Linked DNA regions of Homo sapiens: all the other regions are linked to region 2. Evidence: promoter capture Hi-C in 16 types of primary human blood cells and fetal thymus (Javierre and others, 2016). All regions are on one chromosome and are shown on one strand. Each heading gives the region's core, a stretch centred on a gene start or on the middle of the fragment in contact. The rest is flanking DNA. Distances are from core to core; before and after follow the strand shown. Region 1 has its middle 300 kb from the start of LINC03000. Region 2 holds the start of RARS1 (arginyl-tRNA synthetase 1). Region 3 has its middle 16 kb from the start of MAT2B. Region 4 has its middle 280 kb from the start of LINC03000. Region 5 overlaps RPL26L1 (ribosomal protein L26 like 1).

Region 1 (4,223 bases), core at 364-2,863, 4.5 Mb before region 2:
ATATGAGAAAAGAATGTATATATGCTGCTTTTAGTACCCACTGCCATTGTAACTATAACCACAATTTAATGGGAGTTGTTGGAATTATCTTTCTGGTTATTATGCATCAAAGAATAGCTACTACCTTGTACATTGTCTGAAAGAAATGTTGCACATATGGAAGAGAACATATTCTATGTATAATTTTAGAGAACATCTTGCACAATATTCTTTCTTGTAATCTTATTTCCAACCTAGGGTAATCATGATCATCATCATCATTATCATCGTCATCATCATCATGAAAAACTAATAAGATTCATTATTGTTATTGCTTGCTATTATTAGTTTCGTTGCCATTTCCAAGGGTAATAGTTGAAGTATATATTAGAGCAATAGTTCTCTCATTCATTCATTGGCTCTTGGCTTTGCCAATCTCATTCTGAAGATAAGAAATCAATCAGTGCCTGAATATGTCTCTTTTTTTGTACTTGTTATTTTGCTTATAGGTGTTTAGTGTGACTCTTTATGAAACTAGAATATCGAGAGGCAAAAATCTTTTAAAATTTAATTTAATGAAAATTAGACTGTAAAACATACAAGCTTAGAATTGGCTCAAGTTTATTTTATAATAATTGAATAGTCACAGTTAGAGGCACCTGTGACCTGAAAATGCTGGTTGAATGGTATTTTCGTATTTACAGAGCAGATACCATAGCTAAAGTGTATTTTACCAGCATTATCAAATATTGGATTCAAAGTCTCTTTTAATACATTTCTGATAAAAATATATGCAGATACATTGATGGATAATCTGTTAGGCGAAATCAACCCTAAAATGGTACCAATTTCCACATTTGGAAATTCATTTAAACTTTGTTTTGTTTTGATCTTGTAATTTAATGAAAAGATCACATTGCACCTATTCTTTGCTCTTTAAGAATGTCAAAATTTAAATCTATTCCATGGCTCAGAATGTTTCTCTATATGCTATTAATATATAAAATCGAGGTTCTGGGTTGAGTTCAAGATGGTGTGATTAAATAAATATTTGTGATTAAAAATTTTTTTCTTTTAAACATGAGCTGCTTCATCAAGTCTTACTTTATATGAATTCATTCCTTTCTCTGTCATAATTTTTTTCTCCCTATCCTTTCCCTTTGAAATTTGAACCTATTTTGTTACAATCACTTTTTTCATAATAAGTTTTTATTACCACTATGCACTCAACTCTCTTGTTCTACTAGAGAGTGCATGGCTTTTGTTTATTGTTGTTATTTTTCTTCATTATTTTTAGTTTTATTTTTTTCATGTTTATAGGTGACTTGCTTTGGTAATTTTATTTTGATATTTCACAGACTGCTTTATCTGTTAGCAATACCACATATGAAATATAGATTTCCTTCAAAGATATAATACATATAAAAGCTAATTGTGACTTCAAATACTAATTACCTATACTAAACTATGGTTTCTTTAGAGATATTCAGTAATATATCTTTCTCACTTTTTGTTGAAATATAAATTAGAAAATATACTCACTTCTTATTTTCCTCACATTCATATTTTATTCTGTGCTTTTTCTCACAATTAGAAAATTAAAACAACAAAGAAAGTTGAAGGAGGGGAAGAAGAGAACACTTAATTGTAAGAGAAAGAATTAGAATATTGACTATTTGAATGGCCAAGCATGTTTCACATATAATACAAAGATAGGAAATGATGAAAAATGAGATGTGGAAGAGAGTAGTAAAAAATCTCTATGATTTTGATGAAAACACAAAGAGGAGTAAAACGTACATTACTCTTCTTCGATCCTTTGTGACCGTGCACAGGCTTTGGCACAGAGATGTAGTCACTGATTATAATTAGTTGAAGACTTTATTCCCAACTTCCCATCTTTCAAATGCAAATTAGTGTTTCTATGACAAAAATAAAAGTCCTTGACACCCTCTTGAAGAAGGACTCCAGTAAAATGAATAATCAGTTGAGATGAACAGCCTACAGTTATCAAGAAAGGATTCACAGATCCTGCTTTTCCAATAAAACAGAAGGAACTGTTGGAATATAATACTTGCTTCAAAGAACCACTTTATTATGAACAGGTAAAATAATAATATCCAATCAAGGTCTAGTGAAATGAATTGCCTGTGTGAGGATGGACTTGGCTGCCCAGCTGCATTTGATTATGCATAACTTTACCTTCACACCAAGCATTCATGTTTTTATATTTAGAGGTATATTCCCCAAAAAGTAACTCTTAAAATATCATATTATCAGAAGAAGTGCTTCCATCATTTCTTTCTAACAGCAGCATATGTTGTTTAAGAAAAAAAAAAAAGAAAGAAGAAGACAAAAAGACAAAAACCTTCATTTAATTGTTTTTCTAGGCAGGTAATTATCTTCTCAGTCCTGTCTAACTTATGTTAGATGCTAATTTGATTGAAATATTTGTGAGATTCTTCCCCCCTTCCCCCACAATTTTTCTCTTTTTATTACATCGTGGCAGGTTAAATTCCTATAATTTATATTTGTTTACTTTTTCCTCATATATGTGAAGATCTTTTTTCACAAATGTTTCAAGTAAGGATGGGGTAACTTCAAATGTTAAGATCTCTTCCTGGTAGGATAAACAGGCATTCTTGGGATGACTGACAAGACTTCTTAAGCTTATTCGAAATGGACTGAAAGCAGATAAAATAATGTAATATCTGAACAGATTTTACTCCTTTAAATGCAAACTACTTTTTTACTGTGTCAGAAATAGTTCCTTTAGGTATTTGTGCACATCTGGCTTTTATGAAGGACAGTAATGAAAGTGAAAATATATTAATATTATCATTCCAAAGGGCCACTATTAGTTAAGTACCTATGATGTGTTAGAAACTGTGAAAAAACATCTTTTGCATTTTATGTTATTAAATTCCCATGGAGTCCCATGAAATGGTTTATATTATTCCCTTTAAAAAATAAATAAAATAAAGTACAGAGGAGTTAATGTTACTTGCCCTAGATCACAGAGACAGTTTGTAGCTGTCAGTATGATAGCAAAACCCATTCTAATTCAGCTGAAGTACAACTGTTTTTAAACAAATAACCTTATATAGCAATTACTACTGGAGGAACTTTAGCTACCTACAAAAATATACGTAAATATCTTAAAAAGGCTGAAAAATGTTTGAATGTGTGGTGATATAGTAGTAGTAGTAGGTTATCTATGGCTGTGTAACTACAGCCCTAAAACTTAGTGGTATAAACAAACATTTGCTATCCTTGCAAGTTTGTGGATCAGTAGTTCAGGTAGGGCACAGTGGGGATGACTTGTCTCTGTTCCATGACGACTTGGGCTTCAGCTCGGGTGGCTCAGTTGTGGCCATATGCTTAGTGTTTCAGCATTTGCCATTGGCTGGATTCTTAGTTATTTTCTATGCCAACTCTACTATGTCTGGAATGTCCAGGATGGCTTTTTCCCTCACCTAACGAGGCTGGAATGGCTGGAACTCATCTTTCTTCTCAGGGCCTCTCTAGATGGCTAGCCTGGACATCCTCACAGCATGACTATCTCAGAGTAACTGAACTTCTCACATGGCAACTGGCTTCTCCCAGAACAAGCATTCTAGGAGGTTCGGGCAGAAGCTGAATGTCTCTGATGAGCCATCCTTGAAAGACCTGGAATGTCATTTCTAACTGCATCCTATTGAGCAAGGGCGTGAGAGCCTTCTCTGGCATGAGTAACAATGTGGATAATGGTGAGACTTGAGTGACTTTGCAAAACTGCACTAAAAGCATCCTCCTGACAGGAGAACGGCTTCGCAGCGAGTCTGGGATGGGCTGCCTTGCTGGGGCACTGACAGAGAAAGAAGAATTAAACCAGATGCTCCCATGCAAAAGATTTGTGTAGCTGGGGAGGACACTACACAAATCCACACATTCACAACATCCTTCACAGACTGCCAGCCAGCTAGCCAGAGAAAGAAACAATAACAACTAGCTTAAAATCAGACTGTGTTCTTGCTCAGTGAGGACATGAGATACTGCCCTTGTCCCTAGCTCTGCCTCAATATTCCCTAAAGGTGAGCCAGCCCCTACATGGGGGAGGAGCAAACCATGCTTCAAGATGCTCTATCAAAACTTGGTATGTGATTTACAGATAATCATTTTTAGTTACAAGGTTAAAGCAGGCCAGGTGGGGTGGCTCATGCCTGTAATCTTAGCACTTTGGGAGGCTCAGGCAGGACGATTAC
Region 2 (3,950 bases), core at 1,167-3,666:
ATAACCAATTCATAGGTCTTAAAATGCATGCCATTTCTTGGTAGCATGATGAAATCTCCACCGTCCCATTCTGTCTTGCCCAGGATATGAATCCCCCCTTGCCCAACAAATTCATGCTGTCTACACTACCCACCCATTAGTCACTTATTAGCCCTCTGAATTACTGGATTGAAAAAACATAGTATATATATAGGGCTTGGTACTATTCACGGTTTCAGGCATCCACTGAGGGGTGTTGCAATGTATCTCCCACGGATAAGGAAGGACTGGTATATTAACACTTTTATTTGATTTACAAAATAAAGGATAGTTTATATAGTTCTGGGTAAAATTAATTAATTAATTTAAAAGGAAAAAAGATAAAGGCAAACTTTAAGCTTGTTAAAAATTAAGTAAAATAATTTGGATTATTTAATTGGACAAAGAGGACTGGCTTTGCCAATGAAACAATATGGCCGACATGTTCCATAAATTGGACAAGCTAAACTTGCAAATCCACAGTTTTGACGAAAATATAGTGAGAGCACTTATGAAACATCATGCCAGAAAATAATCCATTCCCAGAAGTTGTGAAAAGAGTTTTTAGATGTCTTTTTTTTTTTTTTTTTTTTTTTTTTGAGACAGAGTCTCACTCCGTTGCCCAGGCTGGAGTGCAGTGGCCAGATCATGGCTCACTGCAACCTCAAACTCTTGGGTTTAAACAATCCTGCCTCCTAAGTCTCCTATATAGCTGGGACTACAGGTGCACACCACCATGCCTGGCTAATGTTTTGTATTTTTGGTAGAGACGATGTTTCACCATTTTTTCCAGGCTGGTCTTGGACTCCTGGGCTCAAGAAATCTGCCTGCCTCAGCCTCCCAAAGTGCTAGGATTACAGACATGAGCCACTGTGCCTAGCTCGATGTCAACTTTTAAAAGTATACACTGGGATATGAATTTTTAAAATACTTTTATGAGGCACGGAAGCGAAAACGTTTAGAGTGCTACTTTCTAAGTTCTGGAGTCATAGAGAAGAGTGAACAAGATAATTAAGGTCCCTGCCCTCTTAGAACATATATCCCAGGTTTGCTGTTTATAATTTTAACTCAATATATATACAATGAAATATTATTCAGCCTTATAAAAGAAAACCCTGTTATGGGTGACAACATAGATGAACCTGGAGAACATTATGTTGGTGCAATAAGCCGGGCACAGAAAGACAAATACTACATTAGCCCATGTATATGTGTAATCTAAAAAATTCAGATTCATAGAAGCAGAGCATAGAATGGTGGTTGTCAGGGCTTCAGAGGTAGGAAAGATGGGAGATGTTGCTCAAAGTTACAAAGTTTCAGTTAGGCGGGATGAATAGATTCTAGAGATGTAATGTATATTGTATACTTGCAGTTTTCGTTTTCGTTTCGTTTTGTTTGTTTTTAAATAGAGAGAGAAAAGGTCTCACTCTGTCATCCAGGCAGAGTACAGTGGCATGATCATGGCTCACCGCAGCCTCAAATTCTTGGGCTCAAGTGATCCTCCCACCTCAGCCTCCTATATACCAGGGACTACAGGCACATGCCACCATGCCCGGCTATTTTTCCATTTTTTTGTAGAGACGAGGTCTTAGCTGTTTCCCAGGATGAGAATAGATCTTAAATGTTCACAGCACACACGCGCGCGCGCGCGCGCGCACACACACACACACACACACATGCAAATGATAACTGTATGAGATGAAGGTTATGTTAATTATTTTGGTTGTGGTAATCATTTCAGAATGTATACATATATCAAAACATTACGTTGTACATCGTTATGATATACAATCTTTGTCAATTATACCTCAATAAAACTGGAAAAATAAATAAGATTTTAACTCAAATGTCACTTGCTTAGAGATGTCTTCTCTCACCCAAGTCACTCTATCACATTGCCTTCCTAGCAATTAAAACTACCTGAGATTATTGCCTTTTTTGGTCTATTTTCTCTCTCCATTCTAAAATGTGTCTGCCGTGAGAGGGGAGATCGTGTCTGTTTTGTTTTCTTTGTGCCCCCAGAGCCTAGAATACTGTCTGGCATTTTAAAGTACACAATAAATGTTTGTTGAATAAATGAATGGATTTGTTAGTTTTGTGCCCATTTCACAAAGGGGCAAAGTGAGGCCTTTGAGAGCCAGAAGCTCTAGGTCAGTGACTGTCCTAGTCTATCCAAGCACAGAGCAGCTCTGGTTAGTGTCTGCTCAATTCCTCTCCCCTCGCCCAAACGTCCCTGAGTTGCGGCCTCGCTCCTGACCGAAATCCCCGCGGGTTCTCCTCGCAGTGTCTACTGGATCCCGCCAGGAGGCAGCAGAGGCGCCAGCACCCAGTCCGACGGGACAGCGGACCGGAGGGGGTTTCCGCTTCCGGGAGAGGCTGACCGTTTCCGCTTCCGTCCACTTGGCGAGTGAGACGCTGATGGGAGGATGGACGTACTGGTGTCTGAGTGCTCCGCGCGGCTGCTGCAGCAGGTTTGGACGCAGGAGACCGGCGGGAAGGCCTGAAAGAGATGGAGCAGGCTCTGACTCCTGCCCAAGCGGCTTCGGGGGCGGGACAGCTAGGCGAGGACCATCCTGGTCCTCTCAGAGTGGAGCGGCACGGTCCCTGTGGGAACAGGAAGGGTTGAGAGAGGAAGCACCCATCATTTCAAAGCCCGTGTGACTGTGATTTTCAGCGGAATGGAGGGTCCCCACCCTCTCCCAGGCCTCCCCCAAACCAGCGTCTTCGGTGGGCTGGAGCCTGGCATGTTCAGAACAGTTCTCTCCCTACAATCCACCTCCTCTTCTGCATACACACGCGATTTAGGGGATGCGGGGAGATAGACAAGGGGGGAATACATTCAGAGCTCTGGGTCTTGGTTTGCAGCTCAGCCGCAGTTCTTCCCGGGTTACTGAGCGAGAGGATTCCTAATAAGCCCATGGGGTGATTCATTATCAGACCAGCGGAGCTTGCTCTGTGCCCTCAGCATTCGTCGGGAAGGAGCAGCCACACCATATAAAAGTGAAAGCGGCCGGGCGCGGTGGCTCATGCCTGTAATCCCAGCACTTTGGGAGGCCGAGGTGGGCGGATCACGATGTCAGGAGATCGAGACCATCCTGGCTAACACAGTGAAACTCCGTCTCTACTGAAAATACAAAAAAACTTAACCGGCTGTGTTGGGGGGGGTCCCTGTATTCCTAGCTACTCGGGAGGCTGAGGCAGGAGAATGGCGTGAACCCGGGAGGCGGAGCTTGCAGTGAGCAGAGAGCACACCACTGCACCACAGCCTGGGCGACAGAGTGAGACTCCGTCCCCCTACAAAAAAAAAAAGTGAAAGCGGAACAGTTCCATTACCTTTTATGCCCAGGTGGGGAGGGATGGTAGGAAGATAGTTCACAGTACTCTGTCCTGTTACGGCTGTATACTTAATCAGCAGTCACAAAGTACAAGTTAGTCAAGTAAATTGGCAAGCTCTTTACATTTCTGAGCCATTTATTTATCGGTATGTATTTATCTTTGCCTCACTTGGTTGTGATAATCATGAAGGTAATTTCTGAAAAGTGTTTTTAGCTCAGCTCCTGGAACATAATGTATGCTCATTTTTGGCAATTTGGTTTTGGCTGTAGCTATCTCCCAGTAAGTATTCTGAAATTTCAGGTGAGGAACTCCCCCTGAGTTTTGCAGTTTAAGTTGGAAGCTTTATTTCTTTCTGAATTGACATGTCTTTAGTTTTAGATGTTAAACTACAAAGCCTGGTCTGGTCTAGTCTAGGACCTAAGACACTGGAAACAGGAAGAAATGGGAAAATTGTTTAGTCCCAGAAAGGGTGAAAGGCAGACCCTTGAGCTATTTTGAATGTGACAAAGGACATTTGGGTTTTTTAAGAGTCCCAGGTCATAGGATTTGGGAATAAAAGCAGGTTGGTCAACCTGAAACTTAACTACTCTTGCTAA
Region 3 (4,388 bases), core at 1,537-4,036, 5.0 Mb before region 2:
GAAGGGAAAATATATTTACTATTCATTAAGTGGAAGTAGATTATCATAAAGTTTTTTTTTTTTTTTTTTAGACAAGGTCTCGCTCTGTCGCATAGGCTGGGGTACAGTGGTGCATTCTCAGCTCACTGCAACCTCCGCCTCCTGGGTTCAAGCAATTCTCCTCCCTCAGCCACTCGAGTAGCTGGGATTACAGGCACCCGCCACCACGCCCAGCTGAGTTTTGTATTTTTAGTAGAAATGAGGTTTTGTCATGTTGGCTAGGCTGGTCTCAAACTCCTGCCCTCAAGCAGTCCACCCTCCTCGGCCTCCCAAAGTGCTGGCACTACAGGCGTGAGCCACTGCACCTGGCCTGGATCATAATCAAGTTCTTTATTCTTATCTTCATGTTGAGTAGGCTGAGGAAATTAACTGGGGAAATTTTACTGATACCTGAGTCCTACCCTGGGCTTACTGAAATAAATTTTGGGAATTGAGGCCTATTAATTTATTTTTAAATGTTTCCCAGGTGGTTCTAAGGTTGCCAGTCTGGCATTGCATTTGGCAACCACTAAATTAAAGCATTTTGTTTTATATTTTAAGTTACTACATTTCATATAGTGCATAATTAAGTTTCGGAGAGTAAAAAGTGTTGTTATTCTCTAGCCACCCGTTTTTCAACTGTGGAAGAAATGGATGTAGATCAGTTCCTTGCATATGTTTCTAGAGGCACTCTGCATATAGAAGAATATAATCAAAAAACTCACGTGTCCATACTCTCACCATCCGCCCTCACAAAGAATAACATACAATTCTCTGACCTTTTTTTCATTTGGAATTTGTTGTATAATATAAATAATGTCCTTTTTTTTTTTTTTTTTTTTTTTTGAGACGGAGTCTTGCGCTGTTGTCAGGCTGGAGTGCAGCGGTGTGATCTCGGCTCGCTGCAACCTCCGACTCCCTGGTTCAAGCGATTCTCCTGCCTCAGCCTCCCAAGTAGCTAGGATTATAGGCAGCGCCACTACACCCAGCTAATTTTTGTATGTTTAGTAGAGATGGGGTTTCACCATGTTGGCCAGGATGGTCTCGATCTCCTGACCTCGTGAGCTGCGCACCTCAGTCTCCCAAAGTGCTGGGATTACAGGTATGAGCCACCGTGCCTGGCCAAAAATGTCCTTTTTAAAAATCTTCATTTAAAAATTTCATTATTTGCCATGATAGCATAAATAATGCCTGTATTTCCCTTTCCAGATTCCCCAGTTGTCAGCATTTAGCACATTTACCCTATCATTTTCATGCACACTACATATGTATACTATTTTTATTTCCTGAACTATTGAAGAGTAGGTTGAAGATACGATGCTTCATCACCCACTTAGTATATAAACCTCAGTGTATATTTTCTAAAAATAAGGATACATGCCTATATACCCTGTAATATAATCACAATCAAGAAATTACCATTCAATTTCATAAGATCCCATTCAGATTTCATCAGTTGTTCCAGTTTCCTTTATAGGTCTATGCAGTCCAAGATTACTTGTGTGTGTCGCCATGTTGCTTTAGCTTCAATATGGAACAGTTCCTCAGTGTTTGTCTTTCATGAGCTTGATATTTTTGACATTTCTCTGTATAAGAAACCATAAGTTGACATCGATAGCTCCAGTTACAGTCTTGTTCCACAGGGTTTATTTTGGCTCTTCCCATGTTTGTGGCACCTTTCTCTGACAGCAACCGAATTCTCAGTTCTTTTTTTTGAGACAGGGTGTCACTCTCACCCAGGCTGGAGTGCAGTGGCACAATCTCAGCTCACTGCAGCCTCCACCTCCTGGGTTCAAGTGATTCTCCCACCTCAGCCTCCTGAGTAGCTGGGACTACAGGCATGTACCACCATACCCAGCTAATTTTTGTATTTTTAGTTTCACTATGTTGCCTAGGCTGCTCTCAAAGTCTTGAGCTCAAGCGATCCACTCACCTTGGTCTCCCAAAGTGCTGGGACTACAGACATGAGCCACAGTGCTCAGCTCGAATTTTTTTTTTTTTTTTTTTTTGAGATGGAGTCTCTCTCTGTCATCCAGGCTGGAGGTGCAGTGGCATGATCTCAGCTCACTGCAAGCTCTGCCTCCCAGGTTCATGCCATTCTCCTGCCTCAGCCTCCCAAGTGGCTGGGACCACAGGCACCCGCCACCACACCCAGCTAATTTTTTTTTTTTGTATTTTTAGTAGAGATGACGTTTCACCGTGTTAGCCAGGATGATCTCGATCTCCTGACCTCGTGATCAGCCCGCCTTGGCCTCCCAAAGTGCTGGGGTTACAGGCGTGAGCCACTGCGCCCAGCCTCAGCCCTCATTATTCTATTTATTCATTTGCTTCATTCATCCATAAGAATCATTCTGATGACACTAGCCAAGCCTTCCTCTGTTCTCCACTTTACATAGGCCTCCAAGCCAGCTGAGCATTCCCAGACCCATGTGACCTGGCCCTGATGCCAGTGACTGCAGGGACCACTGTACCTGGTCAAGGATCCTCCCGACCCATGGAGCACTGCACCAAGAATCACATGTGCCACTATGTACCAGCAGAGCACCAAAGAGAAGGAACTAGTTCTTTTTTTGGCTGCATTTATTCCATTGTATCAATGAGGGAAATCACAATTTGTTGGTGTATAGATGGTCCCTGACTTACAATGGTTCAGCAGATTTTTTGACTGCAATGGTGTGAAAGTAATCACATTCAATAGAAACCATACTTCAAGTACTCATACAACCATTCCGTTTTTCACTTTCAGTATAGTATTTAATAAATTACAGAAGATATTTAACACTTTGCTATAAGATAGGCTTTGTGTTAGATGTTGCCCAACTGTAGGCTAATGTAAGTGTTCTGAGCATATTTAAGGTAGGCTAGGCTAAGCTGTGATATTCAGTAGGTTTATGTGTATTAAATGCATTTTTGACTCAGGATATTTTAAATTTATGAAGGATTCATCAGGATGTAACCCCATTGTAAGTTAGGTATCTGTACTGGAATATAAGCTAATTATACCCTTTTGGCAGCCAAATCATCTCATCAACATTAAATATAGCAGTAGGCTTTTTTGTAATTTTTTTTGTGCAGTAGGTTTTAATTCAAGGGTAGGCTAGTCAAGATATTTTTTTTACTTGAAGGAAGTATTATGTATAGTGCAAAGAAACAACTCTAGATTCAAACGTGATTTTTCCACTTGCTAGTAGCAAGTTGCTTTTCCTTTCGGAGCTTGAAGTAATTTTTAGGGTTAAATGAAAAGAATACCACCTATTTCACAGGTCTGTCGTGGAAATACTTGGAACAGAGATACTAGCACATGTAGCTGTGGACTTAACAAATGCCTAAGGGTTGGGGTATGGGGGAGAAATGGTGGTCTTGTAATATTACCTTCACTTTCAGCTGTAAGATATTAGGAGTTTTCTCTCATAAATAAGATTACCAGTGGTTTTTCTTTGTGATTTTTAAGTATTTTCTAGACTTAATTTTAGTATTTTGTAAATGCATTTAAAAATATTTCAAAGAAAATTATTTTTGTAACTTGTTTTACCTAAGGACTTCTGAAAGTTCTTTTCTGTATTTTGCTACAGAAATAGCCAGAATACTTGAATTTATATACATATAAATGTATCTCTGGAAATTGAATACATTCACTTCATGTATTTACTTGCAAGTGATTTACATTGAAAGATGGCCATGAAATTTCCCAGCTGTGTCTACAGTTACTTTGCTTTCCATGGTCCCCATTTCAATTCTAATTTTTGACATATATACATGCTACATATTATTGAACAATTTCAATTTCCCCCCAGTTTGTTATAGATTTAAAAAATATTCCCTTTGAAATGAAAAATTGATATATGGCCTTTAAAATGTTTTAATGTGAGATGCTAAAAATTATTCAAGATAAATCAAACACTTTGGCATATAGGAGGGCTGGAAATAATTTTTTATTTTCCTTATACAGCGTCACCCCCAGGCTTTATGTGCTTAGAACACATAAGGTCCTTGGAAAGTTGAAAGAGGGATGATGGTTCTGGCCTTCAGAAGTGTTCGTCTGTAGTTACAATTCACCCCGAAACTAGAGGTCAAGAAAGGAAGAGGAAAAAATAGATGCCATATGATATGACACCAAATAAGATGACACCAATGTCTATGTAGTTGGATAACATTTCTCTAAGCAGCATGAGGGACAGTCATCTTTCATAATGTTAACCCCAAAACATTCTGAATTTTTCTTTTTTTTTTTTTTTTTTTTTTTGAGACGGAGTCTCGCTCTGTCGCCCAGGCTGGAGTGCAGTGGCGCGATCTCGGCTCACTGCAAGCTCCGCCTCCCGGGTTCACGCCATTCACCTGCCTCAGCCTCCCGAGTAGCTGGGACTACAGGC
Region 4 (3,924 bases), core at 824-3,323, 4.5 Mb before region 2:
AATAACCCTCAGTCTCTCAACACTGCCCCTAGGATCTCATTTTACAAAGCATGGTTTCGAAGAAAACAATTTGAAGATTTTTTTAGACGCTAGAAAATAAAGTTTTATTTCTGAACGCATCTGTGGTTTGTAACACTGGTGATCCAAACTTCTTCCTAAGCAATTTTTTGCATCTGTTAACTGACCTGAATGTCTGTTATGAGGATTAATTTAGGAAAACCCATTTCAAATTATTGTTCTAGAGCAGGGGTCAGCAAACATTTTCTGTAAAGGGCCAGACAGTAGATAATTTGGACTTTGAGGACCCCTTGGGGATCCTCTCTGTCACAATTAGTCAACCTAGCCATTATAATGCAAAAGGAGCCATAGACAATATGGTGGAAACATAGATATGTGGCTGGTGGATGTTTTTCCATCGTCTTTAGTTTGCTGACCCTTTCTAGAGCAGTGATTCTCAGTTGATGTTTGTGTGTGGCGAAGAAGGCACTTTGAGAATTTCATTGAGAAAAAAGGTCAAAAGACTTTACCACTATATTACAATCTAGGCAACTCACAAAATTACACTTGTACCCCATAAGTTTATACAAATGAAAAATAAATAAATCAAACAATAAAAACACTGAGAAAATTGAATTTAAAAAATAAATAGAATCTCTACTGGAAATTTTCATCATTTTTCCTTTTGAGAGTTATCTCCTTTTATTTTTTGGACCCAAATAATACTTTGGCGGGGTCTGTAGTTCAATAAAAATTGCACAAATAATATATGAAGGCCAGTAACTATTTTTACTATTACTACATCATTATATTATATATTAAGATATATAATATATAATAATATTCAACAGAAATATAATTTGAGGCACATATGTAAGTTCGAATTTTTCTAGCAGCTGCATTAAAAAGTTTTTTAAGGTAAATTTTTATATTGTATTTAGCACAATATATCAGAAATATTACCTTTTTACCACATAGTCAATATTAAAAATTATTAATGAGATTTTTACACTCTATGTTTTGTAGCAAACCTTTGAAAGCTGGTGTGCATATTATACTTACAGTATATTTCAACTTGGACTAGTCACATTTCTCATGCTTAGTAGCCACATGTGGCTGGTGACTACCATATTAAATGGCATAGGAAAAAATCAAATAATATGTTGCTTATGCTCAGTGGATTGCATTCTGAGGACAAGTGAAGTAGGACATAGGACAGCTATCTCTTGCCCTCTAGAACACTGAACTTGGCAGCAGCCTCAGAAGCTTCGTAACACACATTTGGGGCAGTTGCCGCCAATCAAGAGAGCTGGCATGTAAGCTGAAACCTCTCTGCCAGTCAATTTAGGGAGTATAACATGAATTCTGCCACATAATTGATCATTTGAAATCTCAGGACTCATTTCGAACAGTTATTTTCTTTTATTTGCCAAACACAGGTCAAAAAGTCCAAAGCCAGGAGAGACCAGAGAGATAGAAATGAGAGAATCCAGATGGGTTGAGCACAGTAGAAAATGATGGGACCATTGGTGGCAAATGGCAAATATAGGACCCTCTTCCAAGTAAACACATTCCAAAGTTAAGCACTGTCATCTAACAAGACATATCTGCAAGACCACCACTGGCTGTACGGACCTATTAGTTTATAGTCTCTGGCCACTTACATTAAGCCTAAGGATGTGTCAGTATTCCAAAATAATTATCATTATTGGATTGCAAATCTTCCTTTCTCCTTTCATCTCCTGTTACTCCAGTTCCATTGCTGACTTGAGACATTCCCTCTGAATATTCTGTCTTCTCTCACCATACACCATGCTCATTAATCCTCATAATGATATTATGGGTTTGTGCTATTGGTGTTCCATTTAACAGGCTGGGGAATTGAAGCTCATAGATGTTAAGTAATTTACACAAATTCACATGGATCATTTCTGGCTGTACTAGGATTCATTCACAGGTCCGCTGATCTAAAATTTTGCCCATGTACGCTTCACATCTTCTTGCCTCTCATTGAACTACTTCATACAATCTCATCACTGTAAGAATAAATTACAATTATTTAAAAAATACTAAAATAACCCATGAAACTTCTTATAATTGAACTTCCTACCTACTGACTCAATGAAGAAACCTGAAGTTAATTGAATATTCTTCTCAGATTCACTAGCACTGTATTTTTGGCTTTTGCATAAAATATTTGCTGTGTGCCTCTGTTCAGCCTGCTAGTTTCTCTTTAAAGGCCAGAGTCTTTTTTCAATCAATCATATTTATCAGCAAAACACAGTTCATCTCACCAAAATAACCAGAGGACAAAGGTTGAGTTAAAAAGTTCTGGGCAAAAGCCCTTTGACCATAAATTAACAGCAGATTGGAAATTTGATTTTTTTCAAAAGTCATTAATCATAGCAATCCCTAGTAAACAGTAATAAATATTTGTGTGTAACTTCTTTATACATTAAAAATTATCAGATCAACCTAGCACCAACTCATTCTGTTTGCTGGAATTTTTTTAAAGAATATCAACGTGTTTTTTTTTTTTAAATATATTCTGTGAACATTTTGATTGATTGGAAGTTAAAAGGAAGAGCAGGCTTTTTGCTTTCCTTGGGCTTAAGTCCTGTGAGGATGTCTCCAGAACTTCAAATAAGTCCCTCCAAGGGAGAGAAAAACCCAGCACTTAGCAACATGCAGCCTTAGTGCCTGGGGACTCCCTGTCACCTCACGTTGGAAAAGTGGCTGATGAACTATGCAGATCACGAAGATTGGGTAATAAAATCCCACCACCATCAGACCAGGAAAATCTATTACTCACCTCTTCTATTAATAGAGTTAGAACTTCGATTTCACAGTGCAAAAAGCTCAGATTTATTTTGCTTACTTGAATCTCAAAGCTTGAGTGGTCTCCGATTTGGGAAATGTAAATTCTGCTTCCCTTTAAACTAAATAATACTTCTATTTATAACACTTGTCATAGCCTCTACACTCTTTTTTTGCATATAAAATGCTGCAATATATATACCTACTCTAATGTTTCTAGTAGGGGACGTTTAGCACAGTGATTTATTAGAAAATAGGAAAGAAAGAACCACGCTCACCTCTGGGGCAAGGAGGTGGGTGGGGAAACTTGCCCATTCTACCCCTTTATATATAAGAAGTGAAAAATCTGTCCTGTTCATTTGTAAATTCACTTGGAACCTTTCTTCTTGTTGAGCTGTTTGATAACAGAAACGTGCTGAGATTTTTGTTTCAAGACAATTCCCATTTCTCAGAACTCCCCCTACTTTTTCTGTAACTATCATTCAGGAAAACGGGAATAGCAGCTTAAACAGTTAATAGTCAATTCCAGCTCCCATTTTTATGAGTGAAAGACAGTTTCTCTCTTAAGATGGTAACAGTTAAATGCAAAACTAATCTAACCAGCCATTGGGTGGCACTGTTGCTCCACTGAATTCTTGGTTAAAGAGCATTTCTCTTATACTAAAAAAGGGAGGCGAAGCGAAACCCTGATTGTGCCTTAAGGAAAGTAGCATTGTTTAAATGGGAAAACTGACTTTCCCCTGTTTCTTTGATTCTTTCTATCTAGTAAACATTCTTTGACCCAGAAATGACAACTACTTGTCATTGTCCGTATTCGAATGGAAATATTAATTGTTTGATGGGTGCTACCTGGAGTCTTGTGTTGAGAAGGATTCTGAGGCCGCATCCAAGACAATGGAGAGAATGTTATGGATTGATTAGCAATATTGGCTGTGGGTATGGAATATTGGAGTGGTGACATGCTTGTCATTCTTGCTTGAGAGTACATTTTGAACTCCTTGTGCTGATGGCCTTGGTATAAATTCTGCACTTTCACTGGGGCTAGAATGGAGAATATGTGGTTAGAACAGAAAGAAAAATGTTAGAGTAAGTTAAGCGATATGTTAGACT
Region 5 (4,505 bases), core at 1,610-4,109, 4.5 Mb after region 2:
TCCCAGTAAGTTCCTATGTGACTTATTCCAGTTAGTGGTCATGTATTTGTCTATGTACTCATTAACTGCTTACTGGCCATCAGGCTAAGCTCCATGAAACCAGAGAGTTCATCTTGTTTGTTGTCTGACCTCAGTGCAGAGCCTGACACTTAGAGAGGAGAAGGGTCAGTCAATATTTGTTGAATGAATGAAAAAAATTTTTTGAGTAGGTAAGATGTAGAAGGTGAGACAGAGAAGGAGGGCAAAGAGGGAGAAGGAGCTGCTGTTAAATATATATATATTTTAAATTAGAGACATTTATTTATTTATTTATTTATTTAAAAATAGGTATTGCTTTGCTGCCCAGGCTGGTCTCAAACTCCTGGCTTCAAGCAATCCTTCTGCCTTGGCCTCCCAAAGTGCTGGGATTACAGGCATGAGCCACAGTGTCTGGCCTGTTGCCTTTTTTTTTTTTTTTTTTTTTGAGACAGAGTTTCACTCTTGTTGCCCAGGCTGGAGTGCAGTGGCACAATCTCGGCTCACTGCAACCTCTGCCTCCCGGGTTCAAGCCATTCTCCTCCCTCAGCCTCCCAAGTAGCTGAGATTACAGGCACACACCACCATGCCTGGCTAATTTTCATATTTTTAATAGAGACGGGGTTTTACCATGTTGGTCAGTCTGGTCTCGAACTCCTGACCTCAGGTGATCCACCCGCCTCAGCCTCCCCAAGTGCTGGGATTACAGGCGTGAGCCACCACGCCCGGCTGCCTGTTGCCATTTTTTGAATGCCTAAGAGGTATGAATTGTTTCAGCCAAAGGCCATGCTGGCTGAACACTTCTCCACCAGGAGAATAAAATAGCCCTGATTGGGTTTGTTAATATTGCCTCCTCTCACGGGATCTTCTGAATCTCACTTACCTTCCTCTTTCTCTGAGTAGGTGATGGTTCCTCCTACTTTACAGAGAAAATTGAAGTTATCAGCCAGGAACTTTCAGAAATCGTGGCTCCACACCTACACGTTTACCTGTAGTTCCACCCCTCTTATTTTCTTTCCCTTCTGTTACAATGAAAGAAATATCCCAGGCCTGGTGCAGTGGCTCACGCCTGTAATCTCAACACTCTGAGAGGCCAAGACAGGTGGATCGCTTGAGGCCAGGAGTTCGAGACCAGCCTGGCCAACATGGCGAAATTCCGTCTGCACTAAAAATATAAAGATTAGCTGGGCGTGATGGCACATGCCTGTAATCCCAGCTACAAGGGAGGCTGAGGCAATGAGATATCACTTGAACCCAGAAGGCGGAGGTTGTGGTGAGCCAAGATCACGCCACTGCACTCCAGCATGGGTAACACAGCAAGTCTCTGTCTCAAAAAAAAAAGAAAGAAATATCCCTGTTTCTGCCTAAGCCTAATCCATCTGCCACTGGGTGCTGCTCCATTCTTCTCTTGGAGCTTTTTTGGTCCCTTATCTTCTTTCTCTGTAGTTTCTTTTACCGTCTTCCTCCATACTTGTTCCTTCCATCAGCATTTAAACACAATCATGTTTTCCCTTCTTTAAAAATAAAAAATAAAGGAAAGTTCCCTTAGCTTTCCATCCCCCTCAAACATCTATCCCCTTCTCATCTTCAGAGCCAAGCTCCTTTGGACTGTCTTTTCTCACCTTCACCTTCTCACCTGGTACACTCATCACTTTACTGTTAATGGCCTCCATCCCAGCACTCAGTGAAGGCATTCCAGCCACAGCCACTGTTGATGACCTTGTTGTCAGATCTGTTAAATACCTTATCCTCTGTGTTCTTGACAGTCCCACAGAATTTGACATTCTCTTGGCTGCTGTAACACCACACTTGCATGATTTCCCATTCGCTCTGGCCACATTAATCTCTCACAAGCTCTTCCAAAATGCTGGCTTTTCTCACATGTGTACATTCTGCCCTTTTCTCATACCATCACTCCTTGAGCAACATGAAGCTCCTAATTGCCTCTCTGTGGATGACTCCCACGTCTCTATTGCTGGCCCAGTTGGCATTCCAGCTGTGTCTGAATTCTCTGTTAGAATGTCCCCAGATGCTTCAAATTTAGCATGTTCCAAACTAAACTATTTCCTCCTAAAATACGGGGCTTCCCCTATGATCTCTGCATCTGGCAATGGCATTGCCATCCACCTGGTTGCCCAAGCCAGACTCTGAGTATCATCCTTCCCTCTTCATCCTCACCTCTCCAGTCTAGTCGACCAGCCGACTTAGTCTTATCCTGTCTCCTGTCTTCCTCTTCACTATGTCCAGAGGTTGTCCACTTCTCTTTTTAAAAATTTTTTAAATTAATTTTTTATTTTATTTTATTTTGAGACAGGATCTCACTCTGTCACCCAGGCTGGAGTACAGTGGTGCAAAAACAGGTTGCTGCAGACTCAACCTCCTGGGTTCAAGTGATCCTCCCACCTCAGCCTCCCGAGTAGCTGGGATCATAGGCGCATGCCACCATGTCTGGCTAACTATTTTTTTTTTTTTTTTTTTTTTTTTTTTTGTAGAGACGGGGTCTTGCTATGTTGCCTCGGCTGGTCTCCAACTCCTGGACTCAAGCAGTCCACCTGCCTGAGCTTCCTAAAGTACCAGGATTACAGCTGTGAGCCACCATGCCCGGCCTAAGATCTTTCTTCAGTCTTGGCCAGGTGCAGTGGCTCACACATGTAATCCCAGCACTTTGGAAGGCCAAGGTGGGTGGATCTCTTGAGCTCAGGTGTTTGAGACCAGCCTGGGCAGCATAGTGAAACCCTGTCTCTTAAAAAAAGTGTGTATGTGTGTATTTCTTCAGTCTTGATGGTATTAACAAGACTTCTTCCAGGTGTGTCCTGAGAGTCTCTGGTCATGTAGTCTGTGGTAGATTTTTCACTGAGATATGATTGTCCTCTTCAACCTAAAAATCGCCTTGGAAAATAAGCCAAACAAGCTATACGTAGACATTTTAGGAGTATTGGGGTTCTCTAGTTCTTTATATGTGGTATCTCCTCTATGCTTATTAATCAGAGTCACATCGTACCTGGTGGTTTTTTTTTTTTGAGGCGGTGTCTCGCTCTGTCGCCAGCCTGGAGTGCAGTGGCACCATCTCAGCTCACTGCAACCTCCGCCTTCCAGGTTCAAGTGATTCTCCTGCCTCAGCCCCCCGAGTAGCTGGGTCTACAGGCGCCCACCACCACGCCCAGCTAATTTTTGTATTTTTAGTAGAGACAGGGTTTCACCATGTTGGCCTGGATGGTCTCGATCTCTTGACCTCATGATCCACCGGCTTTGGCCTCCCAAAGTGCTGGGATTACAGGTGTGAACCACCGTGCCCGGCCCCCATGCATGGTGTTTAATAAGCTCTTGTGGCTGGGCATGGTGGCTCACACCTGTAATCCCAGCACTTTGGGAGGCCGAGGCAGGCAGATCACTTGAGGTCAGGAGTTCGAGACCAGCCTGGCCAATATGGCGAAACCTGGTCTCTACTAAAAATACAAAAATTAGCCAGGCCTGCTGGTGCGTGCCTATAATCCCAGCTACTTGGGAGGCTGAGGCAGGAGAATCACTTGAACCTGGGAGGTGGAGGTTGCAGTGAGCCAAGATCATGCCAGTGCCCTCCAGCCTGGGGGAACAGAGCGAGACTCCGTGTCAAAAATAAATAAATAAATAAATAAGCTCTTGCTTTCAAGGAAACCCTAATCTAGTTGGTTTTTGAATAGAGTAGATTTTTAGTACAGTAAAACAGTCTGTGAGATTTAAAATTTTTTTTCTGACTTTAAAATATTTGTATTAAATGTAGAAATGTTGAAATTTAGAAGAATATAAATCTAAAAATCAGTCATCTGTAATCCTGCTTCCTGCCTAATGGCAGCTGTTACCAATATTTATATATATATTTTATCCCACTGTGTCATGCTATATATATGAAATGTGTGTGTATATATACATATATACACATATATACGTATGTATACACATATATGTATATATGACATATAAGTACATATATGTATGTATGACATATATGTATGTTACATATAAGTACATATGTGTATGTATATGATACGTGTATGTATATATGACATATAAATACATATACGCACATATGTAATATATATTATATATATACACACACACATACACTCATATAGTTTGAGTATCTCAAATTCAGAATGCTCCAAAATCTGAGACTTTGTCAACGTGATGGTCAAAGGAAGTGTTCTTTGGAGCTTTTGGGATTTCAGATTTTCAGATTTGGGGTGCTTAGCTAGTAATGCAGATATTCCAAAATCCCAAAAACCCTAAATCCAAAACACTTCTGGTCTCAAGCATTTCGAATAAGGGATACTTGACATATATATGTATATATATATAGTTCAGAGTATATTCTATATGTAGTTTTGTATTCTCCTTTTTCCTCTAAAGCTCATATCGCACATTTCTGTGGGATCCAGGTAAAAAATCTCCACCCAACCATAGCACAACACAGATTTATATCAGAAAAGTAGCTAATTTTTGACTGCCAGGAT

Evidence for each region. Contacts are between HindIII fragments. The CHiCAGO score rates a contact against its expected background, and 5 or more counts as called.
Region 1: a fragment that was not itself captured here is called in contact with the fragment with the promoter of RARS1 in region 2 in 1 of 17 cell types (total B cells); the score reaches 5.5 in total B cells.
Region 3: a contact is called between a fragment that was not itself captured here and the fragment with the promoter of RARS1 in region 2, in 3 of 17 cell types (naive CD8 T cells, total B cells and total CD8 T cells). The highest score is 11.2, in naive CD8 T cells.
Region 4: a contact is called between a fragment that was not itself captured here and the fragment with the promoter of RARS1 in region 2, in 2 of 17 cell types (total B cells and naive B cells). The highest score is 9.8, in total B cells.
Region 5: a contact is called between a fragment that was not itself captured here and the fragment with the promoter of RARS1 in region 2, in 1 of 17 cell types (naive CD8 T cells). The highest score is 5.3, in naive CD8 T cells.

The regions. Positions count from the first base shown.
Region 1 is chr5:163,989,692-163,993,914 of GRCh38, forward strand. No RefSeq gene overlaps it. Among named protein-coding and RNA genes, the nearest start is that of LINC03000, 300 kb to the right of the region's middle. The HindIII fragment of the contact is 2,066 bases long and covers 581-2,646 here.
Region 2 is chr5:168,484,055-168,488,004 of GRCh38, forward strand. RARS1 (arginyl-tRNA synthetase 1) reads left to right here and starts at 2,417. Exons shown (of 15, transcript NM_002887.4): 1 at 2,417-2,489. The coding sequence starts at 2,445. The HindIII fragment of the contact is 3,317 bases long and covers 376-3,692 here.
Region 3 is chr5:163,519,668-163,524,055 of GRCh38, forward strand. No RefSeq gene overlaps it. Among named protein-coding and RNA genes, the nearest start is that of MAT2B, 16 kb to the left of the region's middle. The HindIII fragment of the contact is 9,934 bases long and covers 1-4,388 here.
Region 4 is chr5:164,009,843-164,013,766 of GRCh38, forward strand. No RefSeq gene overlaps it. Among named protein-coding and RNA genes, the nearest start is that of LINC03000, 280 kb to the right of the region's middle. The HindIII fragment of the contact is 1,625 bases long and covers 1,262-2,886 here.
Region 5 is chr5:172,963,840-172,968,344 of GRCh38, forward strand. The region is part of intron 2 of RPL26L1 (ribosomal protein L26 like 1); the gene reads left to right. Among named protein-coding and RNA genes, the nearest start is that of RPL26L1, 6.7 kb to the left of the region's middle. The HindIII fragment of the contact is 9,586 bases long and covers 1-4,505 here.